Regions from separate parts of the Homo sapiens genome. Here region 2 is linked to region 1. The links are contacts of gene promoters, found by promoter capture Hi-C in human tissues and cell types (Jung and others, 2019). All regions are on one chromosome and are shown on one strand. The core of a region is centred on a gene start or on the middle of the fragment in contact, and the rest is flanking DNA. Distances in the headings are between cores, read along the strand shown. Region 1 holds the start of GDF9 (growth differentiation factor 9). Region 2 holds the start of C5orf15 (chromosome 5 open reading frame 15).

Region 1 (2,757 bases), core at 124-2,623:
TGCGAATTTACAAATTTGGGTGAGAAAGTCACAATTGGCATAGAAGTTCCAGAAAGCAGAAAACCATTAGGTCTCTCAGTCCTCCCAGGTGGCTGGGTACAGAATACGTACTTGGAGTACTGGAATTGTATTTGCGATGTTCTTAAAAGAGGACACCGCCTTTAACCTTGACTTATTTTTAAATGTAACATACTGATGTCCTTACTTTGGTCTGCACACTCATCTATACATATTTTGGTTGAAAGGTTTTGGGATGTTTGCAGATGCTATAAAATAAATGAACGTTTTATTATTATTCATCCAAATGGTGGTAGAATTTGCCACAATATTTCTGTCCTTACCTGTATTTCTGTTCTTGCCTTGGAGCTGAGACCAGGCTAGACATTATGGTTTAAAAAAATGAGGCAAAGGAGCACCATGAAAAGCTGAAATGAGGGGATATTCAGCGCCACCCCGAAGGAGACTATGCTGGAAGAGTCAGCCTACACTCATAGTGCAAGATACGAAGCCAGTTTGTGCAGTACCTACATGAGAAAACTAAGGTATGTCTGCAAAATACAAGTTGACTGCCTGCCGAGCCTCCGTGGTCCGTAAGTAGTGTTATAAAACACAGCCAACTGTTGAATGAGAGCTTAGTCCTAGATAAAATATGGCCAGCAATTCCATTAACAAAACACTGACAAGACACCTCAGGGCGAGCTGTACATTGACAACAGCATCGTCAAGCAGAATGCACTTCAGGGAAAACATAATAAGGCCTCTCACCCGACTTTCCTTGCTTCTCACGTGGGGAGAAGAAAGAACTGGGGCATCGTGATTCCCCCCACCCCACGCAAACCATCTGGGGAGGACGCTGGCTGCTGTCGAGGCGGCCTCAGCATTCATCAATTGACGATTATTTGATTATTTTTGTGGCTGAAACTGACGAAACGTTTGTATTATCTCTTGGGAACGTTAACAGCCTGCCAGGGGACTCTAAAACAGAGTCCAAGAGAAGCCTTCGATGTGTGTCCCTGATTTTGGTGCTGGGGTCGCTCATGGCCTGAAAATAACGAAGCCCCCTTTGAGCTACTGGCCAAGGCCAAATGAAACCTCGTGCTCCTCTGCTGTGGGGCGGCCCGGCCTCGGGGCTCAGAGGCGCTCTGTCTACAGCTGGGAAGACTCGCAGGCCCCAAGCTCCTGGCCAGCGCTGCCCCGGAGGTCGGCAGGCCCCTTCCTCGTCACCTTTTTGTTCCCTCCCCCGCCTCCCGCATTCGGCCGCTTCCTGACTGGGATTCCACAGAAAAGCCGAGGGCTGAGGAGAAGTGTGAGCGCCTCCGCCTGTCCACTGTCCCCCAAAGTCAGTTCAATCCCCGACGTCCTCCGCTAGGCTCCACCCCACCGGCCCGGGCAGGGCCTCCAAGGCACCTCCCACCTACGGGTCACCCAGTCAGCCCACTTCTTTCTGGGACAAAGGCGTCATCCCTTAGAGACAGTAGGAAAATGGTATCTCCCGGAAGTTACCTCACGACCTCCAAGAGCGGCTTCCAACCTTGCCGGAAATGACGAACGAGTCAACCGGATCGGTGACTGTGGAGGGCGAGCTGAGCCCTGTGCGTGAGTGGGGTCTGGTTGTGCAGTGTTCGTGGACCCTGGGAGGCTAGGGGCGCCCCGCTGGGCTGGGAAAGGATAAGGAGTGCAGGGGCAGGAGTCTGGGGTTGGGGATGGACCCCCGCGGGGACTGCGGCGCTTCGCGAAAGCGAGCCAAGCGCCTGTCCACCCTCGGTCCTGCAGGGCCGCCGCCACAATGGGCCGCGAGTTTGGGAATCTGACGCGGATGCGGCATGTGATCAGCTACAGCTTGTCACCGTTCGAGCAGCGCGCCTATCCGCACGTCTTCACTAAAGGAATCCCCAATGTTCTGCGCCGCATTCGGGAGTCTTTCTTTCGCGTGGTGCCGCGTGAGTGCCTTGGGCCCGCGGGAGCGGGAGGCTGGACCCCAGCAGCAGCAGCAGTCACTGCGCCTCCCCTCTGAGCGCTGGCGGCCGGGCAGGCGCTCTGTAACTTGCCGTACACACCTTTCTCATTGAATATTCCTGACCGCCCTTAAGCTGGTCATATTATCCTCCCCATCTTACACGGGGAAAACTGAGCTACAGAACTGAAATGACTGGCCCAAGGTCACTCGGGTGATTCCAGCATGTTCCTCTGAGGTCACCTTTATTTAGTTCTTACCAGTGGTGAAATGCTTTGTGTTAAACGTGCAGCAGATAGTGATGATAGTTGCATGGCCTTGGATATGCTAAGAACTACTGAAGTGTATGCTTTAAAGAAGACAAGAGGACTGAGACCTTTTTTTTTCTTCTATATGTCTTATATGTGTGCTCTCTGTTTACTCTCTTAATTTTTAAAGAGTTTGTAGTGTTTTATCTTATCTACACATGGGGGACTGAAGAGTTCGAGAGATCCAAGAGGAAGAATCCAGCTGCCTATGAAAATGACAAATGAGCAACGCATCCGGATGACGGTTCCCTGTCTCTGAAAGACCTTTCTCTGGAAGAGGAGTCTGCATTGTAGTGTCTCAAAGACACAATAAACTTCCTATGGTCTGCACTGTTGTGATATTACATTTTTGTGAGTAGAATCCTGTGTGACCACTAATATTCAAGTTCATGAAGCGCCCCTCCTCAGCATGAGTCTTGAAGTTTTGCCTGGTCTCGGGTTTTGGTGAAAGAGCAGGGCTCCCCCTTTGTTCCATTATCTACAAGAAAGTAGCTG
Region 2 (2,874 bases), core at 197-2,696, 1.1 Mb after region 1:
CATCAACCAGGGAAATCCTCATTACATTTCACTAATGATAAAAGGGCCTTAGGAAATGGACAGCAGTCCTTCCTCAGGGACTGCAAAGACTTCTGGGAGGGCGTCCAGTTAGCAACACTGAAATGTTGCTGAGGAAACATAAGTATGTACCCACAGTACTGTCGCAGAGGAATGTAGGGCTGGACAGGCCCTGCTGGCAAGAAAGAAAACACTATACCAGGTCACACTGTTTTGCAGCTGAAAATTCAAATTTAGGGAGAAACGCAGGACTGTGTCTTGGCCTGAAAGAAAAATGGGACTACTAAACAAAATACCGTTTAATCCTTACAAGTTCTTAATAGTGGATTTTTCCCACCAAGTATCAGGCACTGGTTTACAGATTTCCTAATTTCTCAATAAAAGCCTTCAATCTCTTGATTTCACCATGCAACATTTGCAAGAAATGAAATATTTTATCAATCAAATCCTACAGATGCATTAAAACGAGGCAGGGTTATCCTGGTTAACTCGGAACACAGGGAAGAGGAATCATGATCTCCCTTGTCTCCAAACTCCTCTCTGCCTCCCAAGCCTTCAGGGGCCCAACGCCCCAGTACTCTGAATCTTTATCAAACACCAGAACCTCCCAGTCTTCAAATATGCACCAGTACCCTAAGACAGCTCTTTCCCTTTCACTTTCCCTCTCGGAAATATTCCATTGGTTCAGTCCAGTCACTGGATTACTGCCCCTGCCCGCCTCGGTCTTTACCACTGACCTCTCCCATTCTGGAAAACCCCCACCTTTCCTTGGTCCTGCAAGATTCCTGAGTCCCCCAAACTCAGGACCCTTTCCAGACACCACACCCCCAGCCCCGGCCACCTCCTCAGCCCCTGTCGCCACCCTCTCTTCCAGAGTCTCCTAACTTTCCGATCCAAGAAATTTTGGAGACCCCACCACCGCCATTCCTTGCGGCAGCCCATTCTTCAACGATCTCTAGGCGCTAACACCACTCCTCCCTCCCCGCCCATCTACACACCCTGCTGCCTGCTCCCTGGGTTCCTGCATCTCTCAGGGACCCCGCTTCTCAGGCCCCTTGGAGACCCTACCACCTTGGACCCCTTCAGACACCATACCCTCCGTCCTCAGGCCCGCGGAGACCCTGACCCAACCAGACACCGCCGTCTGCTCCTGACACTTGGAAGCGCCCTTTCCCTGGCCCGGCCTGTCTCCTGCCCTGCGCCCGAGCCCTCCTAGCCTTCCTAAGCCCACACTGCCGCCCCCCTTTACCACTGGATAGAGCGGCGGACACAAGCAGGAGCGCCAAGACCAGCGGCCGCGCCAACCCCACAAGGGCTTGGATGGCCGACCCGGGCAGCAGTTTCGCTTGTGCTGGCCCCCTCATCCTCTTCGGGACGGCAGCGGCCATAACGGACTCGGCTGGGAGCCTGCGCTGTTGCTAGGCTCTACGCCATGAGGTCAGACGCCGCGGCCCTCGGCACATACGTCCCAGCGTGGTGACGTCGAAGCCTGGAGACGTGCTCTGGAAACCGGAATAAGAAGGAAGGATTGCAGGGAGGAGGGAGTTGCCGCTAGGCGAAAGTGGGGACCGCCACACAGTTGGCTGCGGATTAAAGGTAGGGTGTGACGTGCTGAAGAGGGCCAAAGCGAGCCCCTCCCTGCCGCCTGCATGATTGGGTACTATACAGCCAAAAATAGCGTTTTTAGCCATTTTAAAAAGGAAGATCCAGCTGTAGAACAGACTGATCACGAAAGCGAAGTAACTGCTCTTCCTCTCTCAAAGGCGAAAGAAACACAAATGTTAAGTAGTCCTATTTCGGTGATGGGATTATAAGTAATTTTTAAAAATCTTTCCCGACAGTCATTTATTTTTTTTCAACAAAGATTTAGCACCTCTCCCTATTTAAGATACAGCAGTGAACAAAAAGAACCCCCCACCCCCCCGCCCGCCTTGGCAGTTTATTTTCTTGTGAGGGCGAATATGGTGTAAAATACACACTATACAAGATGATAAAGATATTATGGACCGGCCCTAGTGCAGTGGCTCCCAGCACTTTGGGAGGCCGAGGAGGGCAGATCACCTGAGGTCCGGAGTTGGAGACCAGCCTGGCCAACATGGAGAAACCCCGACTCTACTAAAAATACAAAAATTAGCCAGGCGTGGTGGCGCGTGCCTGTAATCGCAGCTACTCGGGAGGCTGAGGTAGGAGAATCGCTGTAACCCGGGAGGTGGAGGCTGCAGGGAGCCGAGATGCCACTGCACTCTAGCCTGGGCCACAGACTCCGTCTCAAAAAAAAAAAAAAAATTATGGAGGAAAAGAAAGGAAGGTAGCTAGGAAGTAGAGGTGAGGGGCTGCCATTGAAAATAACTTTCAGATTTCCTAAAATAAGCTTCTCTTTTTAAATTTTGTTACTTGAAATCCCCAGTGTATAAAAATGCAAACTTACAAACTTCCAAGAAGTTCACCTAGGGCCCTGGCGCCATACTTTGCTCTGTGTGTACGTTCTGTAAATGTCTCCTTAATAAACAGATACAGGCTTCAATTCATAAAAGTTCCATTTGATCAATTTCAGGAAAATCAATGTGACGTTAAGCAAGACATTTATTGTGCCCACAGCTTCACCATTCTGGTCTCTATGATTCCCTGCGAAGATTGCTGTTATCCCCCAGAGACACAGCTGAGCTGTCTCTCTAAAGGGCCTGTGTTCTACTCCTGAATCTGGTTTCCCCTAAGCTTTTATCTCACCCTGGTGACAGCTCAGAAACACACAAACTCTGTGTTAAGAAAACTAAGAAGTCATTCATCTGCACATTTCCCGAAATCCCCCAGAAGCCCGTATTAGACTGAATGGTGTCCTTATTGCAAACTCTCCAC

What was found. The method cuts DNA at HindIII sites, captures the fragments that hold promoters and counts their contacts. A contact is called where the count stands out against the background at its distance.
Region 2: a contact is called between the fragment with the promoter of C5orf15 here and the fragment with the promoter of GDF9 in region 1, in 1 of the 25 tissues and cell types used here (hippocampus).

What each region holds. Positions count from the first base shown.
Region 1 is chr5:132,865,096-132,867,852 of GRCh38, forward strand. It overlaps GDF9 (growth differentiation factor 9), which reads right to left and starts at 1,374. Exons shown (of 2, transcript NM_005260.7): 1 at 1-1,374. UQCRQ (ubiquinol-cytochrome c reductase complex III subunit VII) reads left to right here and starts at 1,547. Exons shown (of 3, transcript NM_014402.5): 1 at 1,547-1,592; 2 at 1,774-1,940; 3 at 2,393-2,757. The coding sequence starts at 1,787. The coding sequence ends at 2,487. RefSeq lists enhancers at 826-2,025, 884-1,384, 1,385-1,885. The HindIII fragment of the contact is 5,371 bases long and covers 1-2,757 here.
Region 2 is chr5:133,967,179-133,970,052 of GRCh38, forward strand. C5orf15 (chromosome 5 open reading frame 15) reads right to left here and starts at 1,447. Exons shown (of 3, transcript NM_020199.3): 1 at 1,268-1,447. The coding sequence starts at 1,406. LOC105379183 (a long non-coding RNA gene) reads left to right here and starts at 1,511. Exons shown (of 2, transcript NR_134247.1): 1 at 1,511-1,614; 2 at 2,573-2,874. RefSeq lists enhancers at 641-740, 1,371-1,590. The HindIII fragment of the contact is 9,621 bases long and covers 1-2,561 here.